Regions from separate parts of the Homo sapiens genome. Here region 2 is linked to region 1. Evidence: promoter capture Hi-C in 16 types of primary human blood cells and fetal thymus (Javierre and others, 2016). All regions are on one chromosome and are shown on one strand. The core of a region is centred on a gene start or on the middle of the fragment in contact, and the rest is flanking DNA. Distances in the headings are between cores, read along the strand shown. Region 1 holds the start of PRAC1 (PRAC1 small nuclear protein). Region 2 overlaps CALCOCO2 (calcium binding and coiled-coil domain 2).

Region 1 (4,452 bases), core at 1,936-4,435:
GGGTCGGATGGCTCTCCAGGCCGCTATTTCCTCCGCCACCGAGTAGGGAGACGCCCCATTTGCGAAGTTTAAGTTTCCAGGTCCTGGGAAGGCAGCTGGGAAACCCGCGGGGCTCGGCAGCCGCCCTGGTAGCAGCCAGGGATCGGATAGCGCGGCGGGCGACAGCCCCCCGGATAACCCCGCCGAGGGAGGGGCGCTTGTAAAACCGAGCGGCGACGGCCTCGTTACGACCGACTCGAACATTCTCTAATAAATCATCGGCCTTAGCTAGTATTCGTTTGTGTACGCATCTGTTTATCCTGATTATTAAAATAAATTAAGGATTAGACTGCCTAGAATAAGGTAAACGAACATGAAATGCCAAGGAGGAAAACAGAAAAAGTTACACCATGTCGATCCCGACCAAAACATTGGCCTGACTTGCCGGATGGCCTCAAGAATCCGGCTTTTAGCTGCAGGCCCGGCGGGTGTTCCCCGGAAGGCAAGGATTGGAAGCTCTTTGATAAAGCCGCGCGAGGCCCGGTTTCTCGCGTTTCGGGTCGCTCCACAGCCCCCTCCGCCCTTCCCCTCCACCCCTCCGCGTCTCGGCCTGGCTCCGGAGGGGTGAAGGAATGTTTATAGCCTGACTCAAGTTCAATGACAAAAACCTGCCTGGAATGGGAGGTGCGGCGAGCTTCAGCCATCAACATGACAAAGGCTGGACGCAGGTCTCGGGCGGGGGCGACGGGCTGGGCCCACCTAGAGATGGGGAGCTGAGGGCCCACAGGATGGGTACGGACCCCGCAGACCAAGAGCTGCCTCTCTGCCCTCAGCCTGGGGTCTGCGGAGTTTGGCGAGTAGTGCGGGTGTGTGCCCGCCTGGATGAGGGTAAGGCGATCAGCCTCTGAGTGGGCAAGGGGACGTCTGATTACTGCCCAGGCTTCGCCTGGGGGTCCAGGACCCTGTGAGATGCCCCTGCTCTCTGCCTGGCCAGCTCTAGCTCACCCGGAGTAAGGATCCGCACCGTCCTTCTATCCACCGCGACCTGCATTTTCTGGCCTCCTCCGAGTTTTGTTCACATCTTCCCTCCCGGATTTGATATTCCAAGCATCTTCTCCAGGGAAGACTCCCAGAAGCCTTGCTTGTCTGTGTGTGTGTGTATCTTTCTCTTTCCCTGTTCCCCGTCCTGTTCCCCATTTGTTCTGATTGTAGTCATTTGGTCATGGAATAAAATCCTCTGGCCTCAGGTCACATATGGGGAAGCTGCAGACCCAAGATTTACCAGCATAGGAGTCAGGCCTGGTGGGAAGGGAGAGCATATTTCCAACTCTTTCCTCCTGTCTTCCACCCCTAGTGGAAGATTTTGCATACTCAATTAATGAGTAGTTGGTTGACAAAAATGTCCACACGTGTTTAATCCCCTGTTTGCATATATGCAGATCTGTCCAGTGCCTGAGGAGGGGCTGGGTCTAGGGTGTTTGGGTGCACCTGTGTGATCTCAGCTGGGTGACTCCGGATGGAAGCAGGTGCTTGTTAGTGTCTGAAGGGCCTTGCAGGGAGAGGTATGTTGACAATAGAGGAGTCCCTGGGCTTTCTATTTTTTCAGTTGGTGGTAGAGGTTAAGCGCTCCTGTTTTGGGACCCAGATCAAGTAACTTACCCTCTTAGTTTCAATTTCTTTAGGTTATAAAGTGCTCACTCAATTGTGGGTTTTGTCATTATGGGAGGGGGAACTGGCAGGGAAGGAGCCAGCTGTGGGGAGAAGAGAGTTAGGTGAGTCCTGAGTGTTTTTGTGGATTACTGTGCCCACCCCAAGACCAATGACTTGGCAATATCAGTGGTTGGCTGAAGATGTGAGCATGTGGTCCCCAGCCTGCTTCTGTACTGGACCCAGAGCCCCTGTGCGCACACATGCCTGCTGTGGCATTGATCCCACACTTGGCAAGGCAGAGCTTCTGAGAGGGTGCAGGAAAGGGAATAAGGAAGCCAGGGGCCCAGAGAAAAAGGTGCAATTATTATTATTATTATTATTTGTCACAGAGTCTCACTCTGTCACATAGGCTGGAGTGCAATGGCATAATCTCAGCTCACTGCAACCTCCACCTCCCAGGTTCGAGCAATTCTTGTGCTTCAGCCTCTTGAGTAGCTGGAATTACAGGTGTGAGCCACCATGCCCAGCTAATTGTTGTATTTTTAGTAGAGACAGTTTTCACTATGTTGGCCAGGCTGATCTCAAACTCTTGGCCTCAAGTTATCTGCCCACTTCAGCCTCCCAAAGTGCTGGGATTACAGCCATGAGCCACTATGCCTGGCCCGTTTTTATTTTTTTAAGGCCCAGAGCTTTTGCCTTAAGGATGAGTTAGTTTAAAAAAGAAAAATTGTTATAATCACAGTTAACTTTCACCCAGTTTCCTTTTTTAAAAAAATTTTATTGTATAAATAGAGACAGCGTCTTGCTACATTGCCCAGGCTGGTCTGGAACTCCTGTGCTCAAGGAATCTTCCTGCCTCGGCCTCCCGAAATTCCAGAATTACAGGCTGAGCCATCACTCCTGGTCTCGCCCAGTAGATGTTTCAAAGTAGATGTTTTCTAAAATATTTTACAATATTTACAAATTTTAAATAATAATAACGTTATCAATATTAATTTTGCTTATGCCAGGACTCCATCCCATTGGAGACAAACATTAAGTCTTATGGCAGACCTTACAGCGGGTGCTAGTTCCCACTCCCAAGCCTCTCCCCCGCCTAGGTCCTGCAGGTCCCGCGTGCTGCGAAACATTTTCTTTGTCCCTTTCTGCCCAGGGCGGCTGCCGGTCTCTCCAGGAACCGCGAGTAGGTGCTCCCGCCAGGTGGTATCGGTGAAAGCCTGCTGCTCACCCTTCCCTTGTTTCCCAAAACTTCTGAAGGCTCCCAAATTCCTGGGAGACCCTCTCCCAGGGCCTCCTGATGCAGCTACCATACTGAGCGATCCGTCGATAACGCCCTTGGCCCACCGATCAGTTTACCTTATTAGAGAGAAAAGCACTCTTGGAGGTAGTAAGATGGGCCGGTCCTTGATCTGAGAAATGGGCGCACAACATCGCTGTTCTCTCTGCAAAGGTGGGGACCAGAATCCAGCTTGCCTGACCTTGCAAGCAAGCATCGGCCTAAAGGTTTCAGCCTCCCAGTGGCGCTCTGTTTGCACGCCTTAGGCTAGGAGAGGAAGGACGGGAGCACAGCACTGGGTGCCCCTCTCCCTGTAGAGTCTGGGGCGGGGCTCAGTAAGAAGGCCTGCGGTTGGTGGCTCCCCACCTCATAGCTGCAAGTAGGGGCGAAAGCTGGAGTGTCTCCTCCCAGCAGCCTCCTCGCCTCCCCGCAAACCTCCGAATCTCCCTGGACCTCCTGGTTGCTGTGGCCCTTCCTCCCCTGATTGGCTTCCTCCCTCTTTCCCAAGGCCAGAGAAGTCCTCTCTTCCCCTCACCTTCCTCCCTCTTCCCATAAAACTTTTAGGAAAATGGGGGCGGGGGCGGTGGAGACCACCAGCCTGGAACTTCAAGTTCAATGGCAAAGTCCCTGACCCTCCCCCCAGGCTGGGCGCCAGCATTATTCTAGGGGCGATTAAACTCTTTTGCTGCCCCCTGTGCACCTCCCAGTTCGGGGGCAGTTTAGGGGAGGAGAGAAGGTAATGGTGGAATTCTTTCCCTCACTCTCCCCCGACCACTTCGTCCCCTCCCCCTCATCCCCTCTACACAGAACTAACTGGTAGGGAGAGAGGAAGAAAGGCTGGCATCGGTTCCTCATTGGATGTTTTAAATCTGTCTCAGGCCCAGGCCAGTGCCTGGGGGGAGGGGCGGGGTGTCCTGCTTTTGGGCTAGAGGCCCGGGGCCGCTCCCGAGCTTTCTCCCCTCTTCCCTGGAGAGCGACTGTTCGGGAGGGTGAGAATGGTATAAATTTCAAAAACAACGAAACCTTCTTTTGCCCCCTCCGCAGCAGTCGCCTCCGGGCTTTATTGCAAGTTTACGGTAACGAGTTCATCTATTTAATTCGCGGTTGCAGCTCGGGGATTTCTATTAGACAGGACGGGTTGGGGCCGGGGGGCACAGGGTCTCCCCTGAAGGAAACCCAATTAGAGTGCAGCACTTAGCACCTTCAATATAACTTTAATGAAGGGGGGGAGGGGAGCTGCAGGGAAGAGAAGTTTGCTCTAGGTTGGGGAAGGAAAGCTGGAGCTGCTCCCGAGAACTGGGGGGCCTGGATGAGGCTTTTTCCTGCTTCGAGGGCTTTCCAGCTTCCGGCCCGGGAACTACTATTTGGAGTAGGGATCGCCTGCAGGGAAGGCGGGGCGGATTCTCGGCTGGCGGCGGCCTCGCAGGGTTCCCGGAAGCGCTAGCCAGCCGGAGTAAAACCCGAAAGATGGAGCCTCAGGTTCGCGCTCTGCGTTGCGGGTGCTGGAACCGAGATTCAAAAAGAGCTTCCGGAGGTAGTTTCTACGC
Region 2 (4,419 bases), core at 663-3,162, 140 kb after region 1:
GAATAGAAATGTAATAGGGAGATGGTAATAAAGGAGTTTTTCTGGCACATACCCTCCCTACAGAATTTCTGTTGCTCCCCAGATCCAGTGAAGAATTGCAGTTTCATTTATTTTGTACCAGTCAGCTCTTAATTAAGTACATGAATGGAGAGGAACAGTGGTGCACATAATCCAAATCAGTGAATACCATTTTCTGGTGAATTACCCACCCCTTTGCCCCTGCTACCCCGAGGGTTACCATGATTGTCAACAGCAGCAGGAGCCCTTCCACAGGGCTTGGTAAAAAAACCAGTTGAGGTGTTAATGACCCTTTTTGCTGGGTGTAAAACAAAGCATCTTTAACCACTGTTCATTATCCCCAGCTGCTCTTACCAAGGCTTTGAAGGGGGAAATTATGCTCTAGGCAGCCACTAGTAGTAAACAATAGTTCTTTTTTTTGAGACAGAGTTTCACTCTGTCACCCAGGCTAGAGTGCAGTAGGCGCTCACTGCAAGCTCCGCCTCCCGAGTTCACACCATTGTCCTGCCTCAGCCTCCCGAGTAGCTGGGACTACAGGCGCCCGCCACCGCTCCCGGCTAATTTTTTGTACTTTTAGTAGAGACGGGGTTTCACCGCGTTAGCCAGGATGGTCTCGATCTCCTGACCTCATGATCCACCGGCCTCGGCCTCCCAAAGTGCTGGGATTACAGGCATGAGCCACTGCGCCCAGCCAACAATAGTTCTTATATAACCCACTGCCCACCCTGGCCTTCCTCCATCCCCCTCGCACCCACACATTATATAGCTGTAAAATACCTGCAAAAAATAGGAAGTTATGAGAGCAAATAGTTATCTGAGTTGAATTTTTGAATCTTTGTACTTGTTATGGCAACAGGTTTTCCTTCCTAATTTCTTTTCTCTTGGTCTAATATTAAAATGTTTTTGCATTACCTTAGCATGCTTACTGGATGGGCAGTGAAGGGAGAATAAAGTCACCCTGGCACATGTGAGTGTGAAAGAAAGCTAACTTAAAAAAAGGAGGCCGGGCACGGTGGCTCATGCCTGTAATCCCAGCACTTTGTGAGGCCGAGGCGGGTGGATCACGAGGTCAGGAGTTCAAGACCAGCCTGGCCAACATGGTGAAACCCCATCTCTACTAAAACTACAAAAAATTAGCCAGGTGTGGCAGCAGGCACCTGTAATCCCAGCTACTCGGGAGGCTGAGGCAGAGAATTGCTTGAACCCGGGAGGCGGAGGTTGCAGTGAGCTAAGATCGCACCACTTTACTCCAGCCTGAGCGACAGAGCAAGACTCTGTCTCAAAAAAAAAAAAAAAGAGAGAGAGAGTTGGCAAGATATTTGGTAAACCTAGGCCTTAACACCTATAGCTTCAGCTCTTTTCCCTGGTCTTGCTAAAAATTGGGATGAAATGTGACTGCCTTGATGTTCAAATATCATTCTCCTGTGATTTGATTTTCTACGGTGGCAGTGGCTTACACTGAGGTAAGCATACTCTAACCTGGTCTCCTAGGAACAAATGTGGATGAAATGTGGATGCAGTCCATTACCTGGGAAAAAAGCAAAATGGACTCTACATAGAGACAAGATCCAAAGAGATATTCATCTGATTGCCCTGAGTTAACCAACAATAGGCCATAAGCTCAGTGAAGTTACACTGGCCCCAGTGCTTTCCTTAGCTGCTCTCATATAAATATTCAAAAGTCTTAGTCGGTGCTCACGCCTGTAATCCCAGCACTTTGGGAGGCCAAGGTGGGCAGATCACGAGGTCAGGAGATCGAGACCATCCTGGCTAACATGGTGAAACCCCATCTCTACTAAAAATGCAAAAAATTAGCGGGGCTTGGTGGCAGGCACCTGTAGTCCCAGCTACTCGGGAGGCTGAGGCAGGAGAATGGCGTGAACCCGGGAGGTGGAGCTTGCAGTGAGCCAAGATCGCACCACTGCACTCCAGCCTGGGAGACAAGGTGAGACTCTGTCTCAAAAAAAAAAAAAAAAAAAAAAAAAGTCTTGGCCGAGTGCAGTGGCTCATGCCCATAATCCCAGCACTTTGGGAGGCTGAGGCAGGTGTATCACGAGATCAGGAGTTCGAGACCAGCCTGGCCAACGTGGTGAAACCCCATCTCTACTAAAAATTCAAAAACTAGCCAGGCATGGTGGCGGGCTCCTGTAATCCCAGCTACTCGGGAGGCTGAGGCAGGAGAATCGCTTGAACCCAGGAAGTGGAGGTTACAGTGAGCCGAGATCGCACCACTGCACTCCAGCCTGGGTGAAAGAGCAAGACTCCATCTCAAAAAAAAAAAAAAAAAAAGTTTTTAGGGCCAGTCATGGTGGCTCACATCTGTAATCCCATCACTTTAGGAGGCCGAGGTGGGCAGATCACCTGAGGTCAGGAGTTCAAGACCAGCCTGGCCAACATGTTGAAACCCCATCTCTACTAAAAATATGAAAAATTAGCCAGGAGTGCTGGCTCACGCCTGTAATCCCAACTCTTCGGGAGGCCGAGGCGGGTGGATCATAAGGTCAGGAGTTTCGGTCCAGCCTGGCCAATATGGTGAAACCCCGTCTCTACTAAAAAAAAAAAAATACAAAAATTAGCCAGGCGTGGTGGTGGGTGCCTGTAGTCTGGGCTACTCAGGAGGCTGAGGCAGGAGAATCACTTGAACCCAGGAGGCAGAGGTTGCAGTGAGCCGAGATCGTGCCACTGCAATCCAGCCTGGGCGACAGAGCGAGACTGTCTCAAAAAAAAAAAATAGCTGGGTGTAGTGGGGCATGCTTGTAATCCCAGGTACTTGGGAGGCTGAGGTTGAGGGTGCAGTGAGCTGAGATCGTGCCACAGTACTCCAGCCTGGATGATAAAGTGAGACTCCATCTCAAAAAAAAAGTCTTTAGGCCAGTGTGATGGCTCACACCTATAATACCCCGTGCTGGTATTGTTTGAGGCCAGGAGTTGGAGACCAGCCTGGTCAACATAGCAAGACCTCGTCTCTCCAAAATAAATAAATAATAAATAAATAAGCTAGGTATGGTGGCATGCACCTGTAGCCTCAGCTACAGGGGAGGCTGAGGCAAGAGGATCCCTTGAGCCCAGGAGGTTGAGGCTGCAGTGAGCCATGATTGCACCATTGCACTCCAGCTTGGGCCAGAGAGTTGAGACCCTATCTCTAAAAAAAATTAAAGTAATAAAATATCATTACATTCTTGTACCGCTTTATAGTTTAGAATGTATTTCACATATTCCCTGTGTGCCTCTCATAATCCTCCAAGACAAGGCAGCTATTAACTCATTTTTATGGATGAATAAGCTGAAACATGCAGAAATAACTTGCTAAAGGTGGAAACAATCCAAATGTCTATCAGCTGATGAATGGATAAATAAAATATGGTGTATCCATACAATGGGATATTATTTGTCAATAAACAGGAAGTAGTCATATATGTTGCAATATGGATGAGCCTTGAAATTATGCCAGGTGAAAAAAGCCAGTCAAAAAGACCACATTATTGTATGATTCCATTTATTTGAAATGTCCAGAATAGGCAAATTTGTAGTAACAAAATAGATTGGTTTCCTAGGGCTAGGGGTTGGGGGGAAATGGAGAGTGACTGCCAATAGGTATGGAGTTTCTTTTGGGAGGATAAAGAAAATGTTCTAAACTTCATTGTGGAGATGGTTACACGACCAAATATACTAAAAACCATCAAGTTACATACTGTTTTTTTTGAAACAAAGTCTCACTCTGTTACCCAGACTAGAGTGTGGTGCGATCTGGGCTCACTGCAACCTCCACCTCCCGGGTTCAAGTGATTCTTCTGCCTCAGCCTCCCGAGTAGCTGGGATTATAGGCGTGTGCCACCACAACCAGCTAGTTTTTGTATTATAGTAGAGACGGGTTTCACCATGTTGGCCAGGCTGGTCTTGAACTCCTGACCTCAAGTGATCCCCCCTGCCTCAGCCTCCCAAAGTGCTGGGATTACAGTCCTGAGCCACCGCACCCGGCCGAGTTACATACTTTAAATGGATGCATCTTATGCATTGTGAATTCGATCTCAAATTATCATTTGGGACATGAAGGATGTCTCAAATACAAACACAGAGCAAGTTAAACACTGTTGAACTTGGATAGATTACGGTGATGTCAGTACAATCACTGCCACAACTGTGCTGTGTTCTCCCCCTATCTTGGACTGGAGGCAGCAGCTTCAGTGCGATAGAATCAAGATTAATAGGGTCAAGGGAATTAGTGATAGCCCACCATTTGGCCAACAGCATTAGTGGTCTCTGGTAATATCTATTCTGTGGAGATGGATGTACCCAATAAAGTTGGGGGACAGAGTCACTGGCCCACAAATCCCAGGTAATCACATTAAGAGATCCAGCCTGCTCTGCCTAATGTTATTACTTTCTCCCTGTGGAAAGGAG

Evidence for each region. The method cuts DNA at HindIII sites, captures the fragments that hold promoters and counts their contacts. A CHiCAGO score of 5 or more calls a contact.
Region 2: a contact is called between a fragment that was not itself captured here and the fragment with the promoter of PRAC1 in region 1, in 2 of 17 cell types (megakaryocytes and M2 macrophages). The highest score is 7.0, in megakaryocytes.

Annotation. Positions count from the first base shown.
Region 1 is chr17:48,719,333-48,723,784 of GRCh38, forward strand. PRAC1 (PRAC1 small nuclear protein) reads right to left here and starts at 3,186. Exons shown (of 2, transcript NM_032391.3): 1 at 2,986-3,186; 2 at 2,387-2,567. The coding sequence starts at 3,060. The coding sequence ends at 2,469. It overlaps PRAC2 (PRAC2 small nuclear protein), which reads left to right and starts at 3,853. Exons shown (of 2, transcript NM_001282275.2): 1 at 3,853-3,981. RefSeq lists enhancers at 3,132-3,646, 3,647-4,162. The HindIII fragment of the contact is 8,116 bases long and covers 1-4,452 here.
Region 2 is chr17:48,864,821-48,869,239 of GRCh38, forward strand. It overlaps CALCOCO2 (calcium binding and coiled-coil domain 2), which reads left to right. Exons shown (of 13, transcript NM_005831.5): 13 at 1-425. Among named protein-coding and RNA genes, the nearest start is that of ATP5MC1, 26 kb to the right of the region's middle. The HindIII fragment of the contact is 6,231 bases long and covers 1-4,419 here.